Regions from separate parts of the Homo sapiens genome. Here all the other regions are linked to region 1. The links are contacts of gene promoters, found by promoter capture Hi-C in blood cells and fetal thymus (Javierre and others, 2016). All regions are on one chromosome and are shown on one strand. Each heading gives the region's core, a stretch centred on a gene start or on the middle of the fragment in contact. The rest is flanking DNA. Distances are from core to core; before and after follow the strand shown.

Region 1 (4,258 bases), core at 775-3,274:
TGCCTATAATCCCAGCACTTTGGGAGGCCAGGATGGGCGGATCATCTGAGGTCAGGAGTTTGAGACCAGCCTGGCCAAAAAAGTGAAACCCCATCTCTACTAAAAATACAAAAAAATTAGCTGGGAGTGGTGGTGGGTGCCTGTAAATCCCAGTTACTTTGGAGGTTGAGGCAGGAGAATTGCTTGAACCCGGGAGGCGGAGGTTGCAGTGAGCCGAGATCACGCCATCGCATTCCAACCTGGGCAACAAGAGTGAGACTCCATCTCAAAAATAAAAAATAATAATAAAAAAAAAAGGTGTGTGGTACCTCCCTTGCCTTGTTCCCACTCTTGCCATGTGATACACTGGCTCCCTGTTTACCTTCAGACATAATTGTCAGCTCCTTAAGGCCTCACTGGAAGCAAAGCAGGTGCTGGCACCGTGCTTCCTGAACAGCCTGCAGAACTGTGAGCCAATTAAACCTCTTTTCTGTGGAAATTACCCAGCCTCAGATATTTCTTTATAGGAAGAGAATGGCCTAGCATAGGCACCTACGGGTGGGTCCTGTGGGTCCTCTGGGACATGGAACAGGACATGACTCCAGGTTATTCCACCTGAGCAGGGAGGGAGCTGGGTTATTTATCTACCAACTGATAATAGTCATTGAATGAGGACATTCTGCAACTTGCAGCTGCCCGCTTGTAGGCAGGGTGGACTCCAGCAGCTGGCAAAAGCCCCCAAGCAAAGATACGCAGGTACTGGCAGCTGGGAGTCAGATTACCTTTGTACAATGAAGTTGTAAGGCCAAGAGGCTATGGGCAGGGCACTGACAACGTCAGTTGTGCTTCCCCAAAACGTGGCTCAGTTCTGGCAATGAATAGATCCTCAGTAAAGCGTGCTGGTTGAACCCAGAGAGCTCAGCCAGCTTTGGCCCCAAAGCTACAGCTCCTGTTTATTCTCCAGCAACCCCTGAATACTGCCATCAGCTGGCAATACTATTTCAGGATCAAACCTAAGATACCAGCACCCTTACATGTTCTTAAAGTGTGTAGTCTCAGAGCAAGCAGCCTCAACGTCATGTGGGAACGTGTAAGAAATGTGAATTATTGGGTTCTCCCCCAGACCTAATGAGTCAGAAACTTTGAGAGTGGGGCCCAGGAATCTGTATTTTAACGAGTCTTCCAGGTCATTCTAATGCAACCTACAGTTTAAGACCCACTGTTTTGGACTCTAAAATTTAGGGCCACCCAACAGTTTCCAAAGCGAAGCCGTTTGCTCTTGGTTAGAACTCCTCCATCCCCAATCCCAAGCACCAGCAGCAAAAGGGAATGGAATCTCTGGAAACATTTTATACTTTGCCCCCTTTTTTGAGTTTTTCTTTTCTTTTTAGGCTTAGTAAATATACATTGTACCAAGTTATCAATTACCAACAATGGAAAGTAGCCCAGGCATATATGCTATAGAGGATAACCTAAAAGACACCTGTGTTGAATTTAACTTGAAGGTGGGAGGATTTATATTTCTGCTTGTTTTCCTGAGCTAATATTTAAGTTACTTCTCTTTCCTTGAGTCCCTACCAGGTGGGCAGTAGGGGGAAAGTCACGGGTATACTGGTAGAAGAAAAAGCTGCCCTGGAATTTCAAGTCCATCACAGAAGATGTGCAAGGAGCTGGGGGTACCCACGGAAGTCACTTTGTGCAGGAAAACTGCATGAAGGATGGACTTGGTTTAACTGAATTGACGCAGGCCAGGTGAGAATAGGAACCGTGGCAGCAAGTGGCAGCAGGTGGATTCATAAGCAGTCTTCCAGGCTGATGTTTTCTGTACAGCAGACATCCCTCACTCTTTCCCAGCAACCCCAGCTGAGAACAGCACCCAGACAGGCTGATTTCTTCTGGAGAGGCCTGAGGCTCTTGCTCCTGCCCTGCCCTGTGCCCTGATGCCAGCAGCCACTGCAGCCCTTTTTGTGCTCACCCCCGACCTGTGGTGTGACATCACAATGTAGTCCATTCAGGATCTTGAGACTGATTTGCCCCATGGGCCTAAGACATAAGCTGAACCTCTGGCCTGCAGTTCCAGATCCAAGGTGACTGAGACAAACTGCCAGCTGCCACTGGCTTATCAGGAGCACCTGGTGAGTATTCAGAACTTTCCCAAGCAGCATGGAAGGAGATACAGCCAACAGCTGGCTGTCTTAGCACTTTAAGGTCTCATTCTCACACAGGTTTAGATGAGCCAAACCGGTGGACAGGAGTTCACCAGGTAAGCCCCAAACTCTTCCTAGGAAAGCTGACTCACCTGATGCACACACCCCTTCCCAGCCTCTTCCTGCTGTGTCACCATCTGCGGGAGGTGGTACTCTAGTCTCCCCTAAGACTCGGCTTGCCACCTGCACCAGCTCCCTGGGCAAAGGTCACCTGTGTTCTTAATAGAGCAGAGAGGCCAGGCTTTCAGATGGCAAATTCACTAGAGCATCACTTCTAGCCCTAATTGAGGTCAGGGACAGCCATTGGCCAAATGACACACCACATAGCAGGATGAGCAGAGGTAGCTGACACAGCCACCTCCCGTCCAAAATGTGAACGACGGTCCTTCCTTTCTGTAAGAGGCCTTCCTGCTTTGGCTGTTTTTAAATCCACCTCCTGGTGACCTGCTGGTATATCAAATCACTTCCTTTCCTTTTGGGACAGTAAGAGAGCTTTAGGATCGTGACGGGAAATAAGGAGATGGATTAGAACACCAGGAAAGTGGGCAAAATCTAAGGTAGCGGGGACAGGGACAGAGGCCAAAGCCATCTCTCAAAGAGGATGCTGGCTCTTTCCATATGGGCCACCTGCACTCGGCTGAGGGTGGTTTGAGACTCAAGGCCTTCTATAACAAACAGTAGGGACCCGTTCTGGGCCCCAGGAGGCACAGCTGCCTTCCCTACCATGGCCCATTCGTGTTTTCCCACAGTCTGTCTACGGTCCATTCACCATCTGTGAGTGCCAACACGTCCACACAGCTGCAGCTGCGTCCCTTCTCCCACAAAGGAGTGGCTTCTATAGGGACCCCATGATTTTAAGAAGGCTCCTGGCTCTCCTTGACTGTGTAAGGTAGAAAGGGAGGTGGTGGGGGGTGGATCAGAGAAATATTTTACCCTTAGGCTTTGCCATCCCTCCTTAGTTTTATATGTGATGGGCTGAAGCCAACCTCTGCTTCACACACAAATCCAAGACGCCAATGGTTCACCAAGCATGCTAAGAACATTTTAGCCTATGTTAGGCCCCACTGGAAAAGGAAAAAAGACAGTAGAGGGGCCGGCGCTAGAGCAACCTGTGGTCCCCGTCCTGCAGCAGGTTTAATTTGGAGAGGAGAAAGGGAGCAAACGCTGAACCTCCCGTGCCAGACCCACCAGCTATGTTATTGCTCTTAATTCCGACCTCTGTGAAGCAGGTGTTCTCAGGTTCATTCTACAGACATAGAAACTGAAGACTGTTCTGTGCTGGTGCCACGTCTAAAGAGGGTCATTAACCTGGAGCATGCCTTCACTCTCTATCGACTATCCCCAACATTAGAGCTCTCTGAAAAGAGAATGGGCTGCTTTGCAAGGCAGCAAGAGTGTGCAGGCCACGGCTCTTCCATCAGCATGGAAGGGAACGGGATTCTTGTGATCAGCTGGGAGCTGGACCAAAAGACCTTTAAAGGCTGTTTCCAAATCCAAGATTGTAGGTTTCTGGGTGTTAGTACTTTGCCCACCCTCTGCGATTGAACTCAGGTGGGTCACGCCTTAAGGACGGCTGCAAACTTTCTGTTAGGCAAGGAGAACTGGGAAGAACCATAGAGATCAGCTACGGGCCCCAGGTAGGAAAGAGGAACCCAGGCTGGTTGAGGGAGTTTTCCAAGGCTCCAGAGCCAATTTGCAGAGTTAACCTGTGTTGACTGAACAAATGGAGGAGCCAGTTCTGAGTGCTGATCAAACGTTCCCATGCCCATCTCTCTCATTCACCTGGTTCTTTCCTATCAAGATTATGATTCAGCCACCATTTACAAAATGCCTGCTGCATGCCAAGTGTGTTTCCAGAGATTATTCCACCTACTCCTCCCCAGCTCCATGAGGTGGGTGTCATCAGCCCCGTTTCTCAGATGAGCATGGTTAGGTAACCACCCCAGAGGATCAGGTACTTGTGGAGATGTCATAAATACTAAATGACGAAGCAGGTCTTTCTAACCCCAAGGAAAACTTATGTCTCCATCTGCCGCCTCCCAGCTTGTGTGAGGAAGCAGGGTCTCCTTTCT
Region 2 (4,346 bases), core at 1,181-3,680, 280 kb after region 1:
GCGTCATATCTGAGAAGAGCCCTGTATACCAAGAGATTTAATAGACTTTGGTTGCCTTTTAGATAAACCAAGGAAGCCATACAGTCACCTCCACCCAAGGCCTACAAGAAGTTCCTGACACCCAATGCTTGTCATAGAGATGATAAAATATGTCCATAGCACTGTTGTTTGTTTTTTGCTTTTTAAGTCAACATCAACCTTGGTAATATGAACATTTTTGAAACTACGGTTTTTTTTTGTTGTTTTTGTTTTTGTTTTTGAGACAGAGTCTTGCTCTGTCACCCAGACTGGAGTGTGGTGGCCCAATCTCAGTTCACTGCAACCTCTGCCTCCTGGGTTCAAGCAATTCTCCTGTGTCAGCCTCCCCAAGTGGCTAGGACTACAGGCACCCACCACCACGCCTGGCTAATTTTTTGTGTTTTTAGTAGAGATGGGGTTTGGACATGTTGCCCAGGCTGGTCTCGAGCTCCGGGCCTTGAGTGATCTGCCCGCCTCAGCCTCCCAAAGTGCTGGGATTGTAAGTGTGAGCCACTGCACCCAGCCTAGAATTTTTTTTTTTTAAGACACAGTTTTGTTCAGTTGCCCAAGCTGGAGTGCGGTGGCATGATCTCGGCTCACTGCAACGTCCACCTCGCAGGCCCAAGCGATTCTCCCACCTCAGCCTCCTGAGTAGTTGGGACCACAGATGCGAACAACCACGCCCAGCTAATTTTTTTGTATGTTTTGTAGAGATGGGGTTTTGCCATGTTGCTCAGGCTGATCTAGAATTCCTGAACTCAAGCAAGCTGCCTGTCTCCGTCTCCCAAAGTGCTGGGATTTACAGGTGTGAGGCACCGCGCCCAGCTAAGAATTTTTTATTTTTGTTATTTTTTTAATTTTATTTATTTATTTTTTTGAGATGGAGTCTTGCTCTGTCACCCAGGCTGGAGTGCAGTGGCGCGATCTCGGCTCACTGCACGCTCCGCCTCGGGTTCACGCCATTCTCCTACCTCAGCCTCCCCAGCAGCTGGGACTACAGGCGCATGCCACCACGCCCGGCTAATTTTTTTTTTTTTGTATTTTTAGTAGAGACAGGGTTTCACCGTGTTAGCCACAATGGTCTCGATCTCCTGACCTCGTGATCTGCCCGCCTCGGCCTCCCAAAGTGCTGGGATTACAGGTGTGAGCCACCGCACCGGGCCTAATAATTTTTTATTTTATTTTAGTTTATTTTTTTGAGGCAGTCTTTCACTGTCACCCATGCTGGAGTGCAGTGATGCATTCAGGGCTCACTGCAGTCTCTAACTCCCCAGGCTCAGGCTGTCCTTCCACCTCAGCTTCCCAAATAGCTGGAACTACAGGGATGCACCACCACACCCAACTAATTTTTCTATTTTTTGTAGATGTGGGGTCTCACCATTTTGCTCAGGCTGGTCTTGAACTCCTGGGCTCAAGTGATCCACCACCTCAGCCTCTCAAAGTGTTGGAATTACAAACGTGAGCCCCTATGCCTGGCCGATTTTGTTTTTGAGAAGGAGTTTTGCTGTTGTCGCCCAGGCTGGAGTACAATGGCGAGATCTTGGCTCACTACAACCTCTGCTTCCCGGGTTCAAGTGATTCTCCTGCCTCAGCCTCTCTAGTAGCTGGGATTACAGGCGCCTGCTACCATACCCAGCTCATTTTTGTATTTTTCATAGAGACGGGGTTTCACCATGTTGGCCAGGCTGGTCTCAAGCTCCTGACCTCAGGAGATCTGCCTGCCTCGGCCTCCCAAAGTGCTGGGATTACAGGTGTGAGCCACTGTGCCCGACCCCACTGAATTTTTAATGGGTAATATGCTATTAAGAGTAACTCCCCACACCCACTCTGTATTGAACCTCTGTTTAAAAAGCTCCTGTGTTCCTGAGATATTGTATGACCATATGTACAATCATTTGTCCCCACACTCATTTTTTAACACAAGATGATATACCCTGCTTTTTTCCACTTAAAAAAATTATTTAAAAAAAAATCAGGCTGGGCGCAGTGGCTCACACCTGTAATCCCAGTACTTTGGGAGGCCAAGGCAGGCAGATCACGAGGTCAGAAGATTGAGACCATCCTGGCTAACACGGTGAAACCCCATCTCTACTAAAAATACAAAAAGTTAGCCAGGCATGGTGGCAGGCGCCTGTAGTCCCAGCTACTTGGGAGGCTGAGGCAGGAGAATGGCGTGAACCCGGGAGGCGGAGCTGGCAGTGAGCTGAGATCACGCCACTGCACTCTAGCATGGGTGACAGAGTGAGACTCCATCTCAAAAAAAAAAAAAAAATCTTTTATTAGTTTATATAGATCTGTAACATTCTTTTCTCATGTAATAATTTTCCACCACCCACAATTAACACTTAACACTGGTGCATTTGCTTAAAACTTTTTTTTTCCTTATCCCTGTGATTACATGGAGATCTTTTTTTTAAAGAAATATAATATTACAGATTAACCCCAAATTCTGTTGAACCACCCGTGGCCAAAGGCGATTGCTGTTTTAAGTTTGGCACTACCTCCTTCTAGTCTGCCTTCTACGCTCTTTTTTGTTCTTTTCTTTTTTTAATGACCAATGATCTGTGACACAGCATCAGGAGAACCTAAGAATATGTGCCCTCTATACTCTTAGCACACACATAATGCTATGTATAATACACATGCATAGGCAGCACTTATGTATGATTTCATGCAGAACTGTGACAGTCATAATATACAGACATCTCTAGATACACAGCATCACAAAGCTAGTAAGATATTGGGCTCAGGAGCCAGCTGCTTGAGTTTGGATTCTGGCTTGGCTTTTCATCTTAACCTTAGATTAATTACTTAGTCGCTCTCTGTCTCAATTTATTCATCTTTAAGATAAGACAAATGGTAGTACCTACCTTGTTATAAAATGAGATATTCCCTGAAGAGTGCTTAATGCATACTATGTATTCAGTAGATGTTACATTATTATTTTGATCTACTTCTTTTTTTACTTTTTTATAGAAATAATTCTTGCTGTGTTGCCCAGACTAATCTAGAACTGGGAAGGAAGTATGATCCTCACCTCAGCCTCCCAAAGTGCTGGGATTACAGGCGTGAGCCACCTTGCCCAATCTACTACTCGTGTGTGTGTGTGTGTGTGTGTGTGTGTGTGTGTGTGTCAGAGTCTCGCTCTATTGCCCAGGCTGGAGTGCAGTGGCACAATCTGGACTCACTATAACCTCCGCCTCCCAGGTTCCAGCAATTCTGCCTCGCCCTCCTGAGTAGCTGGGATTACAGGTGCCTGGCTAATTTTTTTTGTATTTTTAATAGAGACAGGGTTTTGCCATGTTGGCCAGGCTTGTTTCGAACTCCTGACCTAAGGTGATCCACCCATCTCAGCCTCCCAAAGTGCTGGGATTACAGACTTGAGCCACTGCACCTGGCCCTACTTCTCTCTTAACTCGTTTTTTGTATTCTTTTGTATGAATGAGCCTTACCCATTTCCCTATTGGGAACACTCAGATTATTTCTAGTTTTCCACAATTACAAACAGTGCTGCAGCAAATGTGCCTCTTTGTATATTACAGAGCTGTTCTAGGCAGATGCACAGATTCATTTGTTTATTTATTTTTTTTCTTGAGACGGAGTTTCACCCTTGTTGCCCAGGCTGGAGTGAAATGGTGCGGCACCGCAACTTCCACCTCCTGGGTTCAAGCGATTCTCCTGTCTTGTACTCCCAAGTGGCTGAGATTACAGGCATGTGCCACCATGCTCAGCTAATTTTTTGTTTTTAGTGGAGACAGGGTTTCACCATGTTGGCCAGGTTGGTCTCGAACTCCTGACCTCAGGTGATCCACCCACCTCAGCCTCCCAAAGTGCTGGGATTACAGACATGAGCCACCATGCCTGGCCTGTTTGTTTTAGACGTGTGATATATGCAGTTACAATCCATTTAGTTGGTCTGAAGTAGACCCGGACATGACTGCTTCTTAAATCTCCCAGGCACTTGTCACTTCACTTGTACTCAGGATATCAAGCCATTGCTATCCTATACTTTAGGAAGGTTGCTGGGTCAAGGGTATGCATTTTAAATTACCAAGAATATGAGTGAATACATTTAACAATACAGTGTTAGTAATTTTGATAACATTGTATTTTTAATTTGCATGTCACATAAGTGAGACTGAGCATCTTTTCATTTAAGAGCTATTTGTGAACTGTTACTGTACTTTTAATTTGGGTTTACGCTACTATGATGTTAAAAAATGTTTTTGACTGACAATAATTATATATATTTATAGGCTACAGTATGATATTTTGATATATGTATACCTAATGGAAAGATTAAATAAGCTAATTATCATATCCATCAC
Region 3 (4,244 bases), core at 1,691-4,190, 330 kb after region 1:
ACATCATTCTCCGGCCTCAGCCTCCCGAGTAGCTGGGACTACAGGCGCTCACCACCACGCCCAGCTAATATTTTGTATTTTTAGTAGAGACGGGGTTTCACCGTGTTAGCCAGGATGGTCTCGATCTCCCGACCTCGTGATCCTCCCATCTCGGCCTCCCAAAGTACTGGGATTACAGGCGTGAGCCACTGCGCCCGGCTGTAAGGTCTAACTTAGGCTCTCAAAGAGAGGTTATGGCTGTGAAGGAGACACACGTCACAAAAGCATGGAAGTTGAGAGAGGGTGAATATGGTACTGGGGGTGCATGGAGCATGAAGAGGCCACTGCCACAGCCACGAGACCATCCTAGAGCCTAGAGACAGGAGGGATGCCACCTGGAGAAACCCGCAGACCCTGTACAGATTCCCGGGCCTGCCTCAGGGACCCCAGGCACTAGGTCAGGGGCTGGGACTAGGAAGCTGTAGTTTTATTTTTAATATTTTATTTTATTTTATTTTTTTGAGACTGAGTCTTGCTCTATCACTCAGGCTGAAGTGCAGTGGCATAATCTTGGCTCACTGCAACCTCCGCTTCCCTAGTTCAAGCAATTCTCCTGCCTCAGCCTCCCAAGTAGCTGCGACTACAGGTGCCCGCCACAACAGCCATCTAATTTTTTTATTTTTAGTAGAGAAGGGGTTTCACTGTGTTGGCCAGGCTGGTGTCAAACTCCCGATCTCAGGTGATCCACCTGCCTTGGCCTCTCAAAGTGCTGGGATTACAGGCATGAACCACCGTGCCTGGCCCTAATAGTTACCTTTTATTAAAATATAAAAAATAGGCTGGGTGCGGTGGCTCACGCTTGTAATCCTAGCATTTTGGGAGGCCGGGCTGGGTGGATCGCCTGAGGTCGGGAGTTCGAGACCTGCCTGGCCAATACAGTGAAACCCCGTCTCTAGTAAAAATACAAAAATTAGCCTGGTGTGGTGGCCCACATCTGTAATCTCAGCTACCTGGGAGAATGAGGCACGAAAATTGCTTGAACCCAGCAGGCAGAGGTTGCAGTGAGCTGAGATAGTGCCACCGCACTCCAGCCTGGGCAATAGAGCGAGACCCTGTCTCAAATAAATACATAAATAAATAAACAAAATAAATAACAAAAGGTTACTATTAATAGTTGTTTAAATTTAAAAGTAATATACCCCCCAGTTTTATGGTGAAAAACAGCAGTAAATTAAAAAAAATAAAACAGAAAAGATCCCTTTGTCACCCCATGCACCTCTCCTTCCCTAGTCCTAACTCGCAAGTTTCTTGTGATCCTTCACATTTTCTACAAATTATATATATGTACATTTTTATTTTATTTTATTTTTTGAGAAGGAGTCTCACTCTGTCTCCCAGGCTGCAGTGCAGTGGCACAATGTCGGCTCACTGCAACCTCTGCCTCCTGGGTTCAAGCGAGTATCCTGCCTCAGCCTCCCTAGTAGCTGGGACCACAGGTGCCTGCTACAATGTCCAGCTAACTTTTGTATTTTTTTAGTAGAGACCGGGTTTCACCATGTTGACCAGGCTGATCTTGAACTCCTGACCTCAGGAGATCCACCTGCCTCGGCCTCCCAAAGTGCTGGGATTACAGGCATGAGCCACCACGCCCGGCCTACATATGTATTTTAAGATTAATAAATATATGTCATCTCTGGGTGTTGCCTGAGCAGGAGAATTTGTTAAAGCTTCCCCAGGAGGCTCTAGTGTGCAGCCAAGTATGAAAACGAGAGTTCTAAATAAATGCACATTCACATTGGCATATGCACGGATGTACATGTTTCCGAAACATAAACCTGGGGTTCTGGAGAGACGGTCTGGAGGGTGGTGAAGGCTTACACTTGCCATTGCGTCCCTGTCTGTACTACTTCCCATCTCCAACCACCTGCCAGTATTAATAATAATAATTTTCGTACTAACTGTGGTTCCTTCTGGGCAGTGTAATGACAATGAATCTCCCACCTTTTCTCTTAAAACTATTCTAGGATGGGTGCATGGCTCACACCTGTAATCCCAGCACTTTGGGAGGCCAAGGCAGGAGGATCTCTTGAGTCCAGGAGTTCGAGACTAGCCTGGCGAACATGGGGAGATCCCTGTCTTTACAAAAAAGTAAAAAATTAGCTGGGCATGGTGGCATGCCCCTGTGGTCCCAGCTACTCAGGAGGCTAAGGTGGGAGAGATCACTGGAACCCAGGAATTCAAGGCTACAGTGAGCCATGATCGCACCACTGCACTCCAGCCTGGGCGAGAGTGAGACCCTGTCTCAGAAAAACAGAAAACAAACAAACCAACCCTCACCAATCAAGGTTAAGAAAGTTTTAAGGCAATATTTTAAAAATCAAAATATCGAATGAATGGATGAACTCTGTTGGTTCCAGGAAAGAAAGGCCACATCTTTGGGACTAGTTTTCCACATAGGCAAGGACTACAGACTCCTCTCCTAAGGAATGCGCCCGCTCTAGCTTTCATGTTTGCACTGTAATGCAGACTTTGTGTTTTCCCGGCCTTCTGGGCCCATGCAGCAGCGAGCAGCTGGCTCCCACTACCCAGTAGATCAAGCGGCAAACCCGATTTCCAACCTTCAGCTCATCAGAGCAGAAATCCACCCAGAGATTAGTTGCTCCTTTCACTAGTTAGTAGAAATAACCGACTACTGTTTTAAAACATCCAAACTAAAAATATGGGGAAGCTGGCACACTTAACATCAGGCTTTAACCTGGATGCAACAAACTCCTGGAGGTTCCCATCCTCAAAGGTGATCTGCCCCCGAGGAGAGGCCAGCCAGGCCACCACTCAGCCCCATGTGCACAGGGCCACATCTCCTTCCTCTCTTCAGTCAACACAGCCTCTGAGCATCTTCTATGAGCAGAGTACCCAGCAAGGCCTGGATAGCAAACGCTAGAAGATTCCAAAGCCCTGCATCATGCAAACAAGAGAGATGATGGCAGTGGGGGCTTTTTTTCCAGGGAGTGGGTAGAATTAGAGCCTGGCTTGGAAGAGGAGTGACTCGCAGACAGAGATGGAAAGGAGACATAGGCCCAGAAAGCTCCAGTTATGGCACTTCTGACTTTTGCCAAATGCACTGCTCTGTGCCCCAGCACTTCTGCTTCCCCATTTGCTAGTGTAAACGCCACCATTCACCCCTCATTCACTGGTGCGGGCACTGCCATGCGGCAGCCCCTTGGTGACCCTTTCTAGGCTTGGGAACAAGCACCTCCCTCCCAGAGCACCCCCATCACCCACACATTCAGGGGGACGTGGGTGGCCAGAGAGGAGCCCTGGGCAAGACGGACTGATGCCAAGGCCCCTCCCACCACTGAGGCTCACCCATCTTGGTGCTCTCACGCAAAGGCCAACCGTGCCTGTGTCTAAAGCAGGACATGGGAACTGAAGAGCACCACCCATGCGCTAGACGTCATTAACCTACTGACACCCACACGACTGTGAGTCCAAGGCCACCGAAGAGCCAGGCTGCGGATCTGCTGCTTATTAACTGAAACGGGGGCGGCTGCTCCAGCCCGAAAGGCCGTTTCCTCACCTGTCACAGGGGTGTCATAGCTCTTGCATGGCTGCTGTGAGGATTAGCCGAGATAGACTAAGTTCTCAATGGGATACAGCTCAACATAATGCAGATAAGCCTCATTCGTAAGCTGGCTGCTGACCAGCCTGGCCAATATGGTGAAACCCCACCTCTACTAAAAAATACAAAAAAAATTTAGCCGGGCATGGTGGCGAGTGCCTGTAATCCCAGCTACTCGGGAGGCCAGGGCAGGAGAATCGCTGGAATCTGGGAGGCAGAGGTTGCAGTGAGCTGAGATGGCGCCACTGCACTCCAACCTGGGTAACGGAGCGAGACTCTATCTCAGAAAAAAAACAAAACAAAAACATAAGCTGGCTGCTGGGTACATGAGTATTTCGCAGATTTGTCTTTAAACTGTACCTATATGTATACTTTTGTACGTGTTACTTATTTCACAACAAAAGGAAAGGATAATTTTTTAAAATGTGGCTGGTGGAGGAGAGGGGGGACTGCTTTCGCCGTCTGCCCTTTTGAATTTTGTACCATCAGCCTGTCCTACCTAGTCCGAAAAATATTGTTTATTGGGTTATCAAAAAGGGTTTGTTGTTTTCCATTTTTTTACCCCTAATAGCAAATCAAGCTTCGTGCCATACATCCTCAAGGAAAATTCTACACTTTGGAACTTTCTAGTTGCTTTCCTTGCTAT
Region 4 (4,834 bases), core at 855-3,354, 300 kb after region 1:
TTTTATTTATTTATTTTTTTGAGACAGGGTCTCATTCTGTCGCCAAGGCTGGAGTGCAGTGGCACAATCTTGGCTCACTACAACCTCTGCCTCCTGGATTCAAGCGATTCTCTTGCCTCAGCCTCCCGAGTAGCTGGGATTACAGGTCATTACCACCGCACCTGGCTAATTTTTTGTATTTTTAGTAGAGACGGGGTTTTTTCATGTTGGCTGGCTGGTCTCGAACTCCTGACCTCAGGTGATCCATCCACCTTGGCCTCCCAAAGTGCTGCGATTATAGGCGTGAGCCACCATGTCTGGCCCAGAATAGTGTTTTAAGAGAGAGATGAGTAAAGAGACAAACAACAGAGGAAACTGCCATTTCCTAGAGCAGCAGAAAAAGAGCTGGGTATCAGAATGGCTCACCAGAGAAATTTGGTTAGTGCTGGTCACCCCTTTGATAAGAGGCTGTGGGTTGACTTGTGAGCTCAGTGATTTGAAAGTTTTGAGTATATGAAGAAAAAAAAAAGAAATGAAAGCTTTGTGTAGAACTAGGGGAGTCTCGCAGTGAAACAAGACTTGCAAAATAGGATTAATGAGGCAGTACAGATAAGGATGCGATGCTGAAGAAAGTCATGGGATTGTAGTTAGACGGTGTATAAATCAGAGAGCTAAAACCAATAGGGCTTGTAGATATAGGTATATGACAGGGGATTTATTAGGGGAATGGGCTCACACAATTATGGGGGCTGAGAAGTCCTACGGTCTGCTGTCTGCAGGCTGGAAAACCAGGGAAGCTGGTAGCATGGCTCCGTCCAAGTTCAAAAGCCTCAGAACCAGAGAACCTGATAGCACTCAGTCTCAGGCCGAAAGCCTGAGAATCCAGGAGGCCACTGGTGTCCCAGAGTCCAAAAGCTGGAGAAGCTGGAGTTCTGATGTCCAAGGGCAGGAGAAGAAGGGTGTTCCAGCTCCAGAAAACAGAGCAAATCCTCCTTTCCTTTGCCTTTTTGTTATCCTGGCCCTCAGCTGATGGACGGTGCCCCCTGACATTGAGTGAGGATGGATCTTCCTTACTCAGTCCACTGATTCAAATGCCAGTTTCTTCCAGAAACACCTCACAGACACCTCAAAATAATGCTTCGCCAGCTGTCTGGGTGTCATTAATCCAGTTACGCTGACACCTAAGATTGACCATCATAGGTGGTAATTCATTCCTTTACCCGACAAATGTCTTATTGAATATTCATGTCTGCCTTGTGCTAGTTTTTTGCAAAATGCATGGAGCTGACAGTCTAGAGAAAGGGCAAACAATTAATAAGTGAGAAAGTTAGTATGAAAATTACAGATTGACAGTGCCATGAAGAAACAGAGGATCACTGAGCCAGGAGGAGAATTGCAACTTTGGATTGTGTGGTCAGAGAGGGCTCCTCTGAGGGGCGACACATAACATGATACTTGAAGGAGGAAAGGAGGAAACGTGGCCAGCACTGCAGAGAGCCACAGGAAGAATATTCCAGCAGAAGGATCAGCATGTTCAAAGGCCCCAGGGTAGGAAAGAACAGCATGTTACAGGAGCTATAAGAACACAGGGGTGGCCAGAAGGCAGTGGGGAAAGGAAAGGAATTGCAGGCTGCAGAAGTGGGCGGGGGAGCCAGATGATGTCAAACTCAATATGCCATGGTAAGGAGTTTAGATTTTACTCTAAGATGGAAAGACAGGGATAAGCAGGGGAATAAAGCCATTCCATTGCCTTTTAAGAAGAGCGGGGCCAAGTGCAGTGGCTCTCACCGGTAATCCCAGCACTTTGGGAGGCCAAGGCAGGAGATCACTTGAGCCCAGGAGTTCGAAACCAGCCTGGGCAACATAGTGAGACCTCCACCTCTATTTTTTTTTATTTTATCTTATCTATTTTATTTTATTTATTTTGAGATGGAGTTTTGCTCTTGTCGCCTAGGCTGGAATGCAATGGCGCCACTTCGACTCACCGCAACATCTGCCTCCCAGGTTCGAGTGATTCTCCTGCCTCAGCCTCCCGAGTAGCTGGGATTACAGGTGCATGCCAACGCCACCATGCCTGGCTAATTTTTGTATTTTTAGTAGAGATGGGGTTTCACCAGGCTGGTCTCGAACTCCTGACCTCAAACGATCCACCTGCCTCGGCCTCCCAAAGTGCTGGGATTACAGGCATGAGCCACCGTACCTGGCCTAATTTAATTAAAATTATTTAAAAGACGAAGAAGAAGAAAAAGAAGAAGAAGAGGAGGAGGAGGAGGCGGCGGCGGCAGCAGCAGCAGCAGAAGCAGATCAGCATTGTTTGGAGAGCAGAATGCAGGAGGCAAGTGCTGAAGCACAGCCTGGCTGGACTATTATAGACAGAGCTATTATAATAGGAGTCAGCACACTGGCTCATCCACCAAATCCGGCTTGCTGCCTGATACAGTCTTTATACGGTCTGTGAGCATAGAGTTGTTTTTACATTTTTAAATGTTTGGAAAAAAAATCAAAAGTAGAGTCTTTTTATGGCATATATAATTTTTATAAAATTGTAAAGATTCGAATTCCAGTGTCTGTAAGTCAAGGTTTCCTGGAACACAGCATCACCCATTTGCTTTTGACTCTGGCTGCTTTCCTTCTGTAGCTGCAGGTTAAGTCGGTAACAGAGGCTGTATGGCCTGCAAAGCCTCAAGTATTTACTATCTGGACTTCTATAGAGTAAGTCTGCCGACTCTCAGTCTAGATGATAGAAGAGGTAGGCTGGCCTAGAGAAATGGCAGAGGAGGTGCTGGGAAGGAAGATTCGAGATGTATTTTGGGAGCCTTGCCTGAGGGTTTGAATGAGATGAGTGATGAAGAAGTATAAATGGAAGGTAAGTTGTAGGTTTAGGGCATGTGTGTTATTTGCTGACATGGGAAAGGCTGGAGGGAGAAAATCCAGGTCCAGCCCCATCTTTTCTCCTCACTAACACTATCAGTTAGCTTTGCTGTGCAATAAATCACCCAGCCTGGGCAACATGGTGAGACTCGCTTCTAGAAAAAACGGAAAAAAACAAAATAAAACAAACTAGCTGGTTGTGGTGGCACATGCCTGTGGTCCCAGCTACTTGGGAGGCTGAGTTGGGAGGATCGCTTGAGCCTGGGAGATAGAGGTTGCAGTGAGTCATGTTTGTGCCACAGCACTCCAGTCTGGGTGACAGAGTGAGACCTTGTCTCAAAAACAAGTAAATAAAAATCACCCCCAAATTCAGTGGTTTACGACTTATTTCTCATGATTCTGAGGTCAAGCTGAGCATTTCTGGTCTGTGCTGGCTCAAGTAGGGCTAGATGATTTAGGATGTCATCACTTAGATGTCTGAGGGTTGGCCTGGTGTCAGCTGGGGCCATGGAGATGCCTGGGCCTGGTGACTCTCATCCTCCAGAGGGCTAACCTGGGCTCTCATTCACGCAGCAGTAGCAGAAGGATTCCGGACAGCAGCAGAACAAGCCCCAGCACACAGCATTTCACAAGCCTCGGCTTGGGCCGTGCTGACTAATGTCTCGTTTGCCAAAGCAGGTCATGTGGCCAAGGCAAGACCAAAGGATAGAGAAATAAATTCCACCTCTTGCAGAGAGGAGCCAAAAACTCACATGGCAAAGGGCTGTGGAACAGGAAAGGGAACAATGGGCCCATTTTTACAACCCACCATGCTAACAGCATGACCCAGGCAAGTTATCTAAAGCTTTTGAGCCTCAGTGTCCTCGTCTGTAAATGGGTAAAATAATAACTACTTCATAGGGTATTCATAAAGACTAGAAATAGCTGGCACATAACATAGTAGTAGCTGTTTTATTGTTATCATCATAATGAAAAAGTTCAGTCCCTGCTGGGCAAACTCATATTTCCCAAACTCCAGTCACTCCTGTGCCACAAAAAAACTTTGTTTTTGCCATATCTGAGCACCACTTAAGACTATTAAACAGGTTCACTTTTTTTTTTTTTTTTTTTTTTTTAGACAGAGTCTCGCTCTGTTGCCAGGCTGGAGTGCAGTGGCACAATCTCGGCTCACTGCAACCTCTGCCTCCCGGTTTCAAGTGATTCTCCTGCCTCAGCCTCCTAAGTAGCTGGGACTACAGGCGCACACCACCATGTCCTGCTAATTTTTTTGTATTTCTAATAGAGATGGGGTTTTACCATGTTAGCCAGGATGGTCTCGATCTCATGACCTCATGATCTGCCTGCCTCAGCCTCCCAAAGTGCTGAGATTACAGGAGTGAGCCACCGTGCCCAGCCCCACTCTTTTTATTTAAAGAAATTAATTTCAGGCTGGGTGTGGTGGCTCACGCCTGTAATCCTAGCACTTCGGGAGGCCGAGGCAGGCAGATCACCTGAGGTCGGGAGTTCGAGACCAGCCTGACCAACATGGACAAACCTCATCTCTACTAAAAATACAAAATTAGCCAGGAGTGGTGGCACATGCCTGTAATCCCAGCTACTCGGGGGGCTGAGGCAGAAGAATTGCTTGAACCTGGGAGGTGGAGGTTGCTATGGGCTGAGATAGCACCATTGAACTCCAGCCTGGGCAACAAGAGTGAAACTCTGTCTCAAAAAAAAAAAAAAAAAAAAAAAAGAAATTAATTTCAAAAGGAAGCATGAAGCATGTTAACTACTACAATGGGAAGTGACTATCACCTGTCCTAAATAGAAGGCAATAAATACATTTATTTATTGTAAAATAAATACAGTAAACACAAAGCAGTGGCCGAGCATGATGGCTCACACCTGTAATCCCAGCACGCTGGGAGCCCAAGGCAAGGGAATCACTTGAGCTCAAGGCAAGGGACTCACTTGAGCTCAGGAGGTTGAGACCAGCCTGGGCAAC

What was found. The method cuts DNA at HindIII sites, captures the fragments that hold promoters and counts their contacts. A CHiCAGO score of 5 or more calls a contact.
Region 2: a contact is called between a fragment that was not itself captured here and the fragment with the promoter of BANF2 in region 1, in 6 of 17 cell types (neutrophils, monocytes, naive CD4 T cells and 3 more). The highest score is 10.8, in neutrophils.
Region 3: a fragment that was not itself captured here is called in contact with the fragment with the promoter of BANF2 in region 1 in 4 of 17 cell types (naive B cells, neutrophils, total B cells and 1 more); the score reaches 10.4 in naive B cells.
Region 4: a fragment that was not itself captured here is called in contact with the fragment with the promoter of BANF2 in region 1 in 15 of 17 cell types (neutrophils, total CD4 T cells, naive CD8 T cells and 12 more); the score reaches 12.5 in neutrophils.

Annotation. Positions count from the first base shown.
Region 1 is chr20:17,697,942-17,702,199 of GRCh38, forward strand. BANF2 (BANF family member 2) reads left to right here and starts at 2,025. Exons shown (of 4, transcript NM_178477.5): 1 at 2,025-2,114. It overlaps LOC105372547 (a long non-coding RNA gene), which reads right to left and starts at 1,918. Exons shown (of 2, transcript XR_937294.2): 1 at 1,558-1,918; 2 at 1-239. The HindIII fragment of the contact is 11,340 bases long and covers 1-4,258 here.
Region 2 is chr20:17,978,535-17,982,880 of GRCh38, forward strand. All of the region lies in intron 3 of MGME1 (mitochondrial genome maintenance exonuclease 1), which reads left to right. Among named protein-coding and RNA genes, the nearest start is that of MGME1, 12 kb to the left of the region's middle. The HindIII fragment of the contact is 5,928 bases long and covers 1-4,346 here.
Region 3 is chr20:18,027,695-18,031,938 of GRCh38, forward strand. The region is part of intron 3 of OVOL2 (ovo like zinc finger 2); the gene reads right to left. Among named protein-coding and RNA genes, the nearest start is that of OVOL2, 28 kb to the right of the region's middle. The HindIII fragment of the contact is 2,472 bases long and covers 1,705-4,176 here.
Region 4 is chr20:17,998,201-18,003,034 of GRCh38, forward strand. No RefSeq gene overlaps it. Among named protein-coding and RNA genes, the nearest start is that of MGME1, 32 kb to the left of the region's middle. RefSeq lists an enhancer at 1,725-2,226. The HindIII fragment of the contact is 3,176 bases long and covers 517-3,692 here.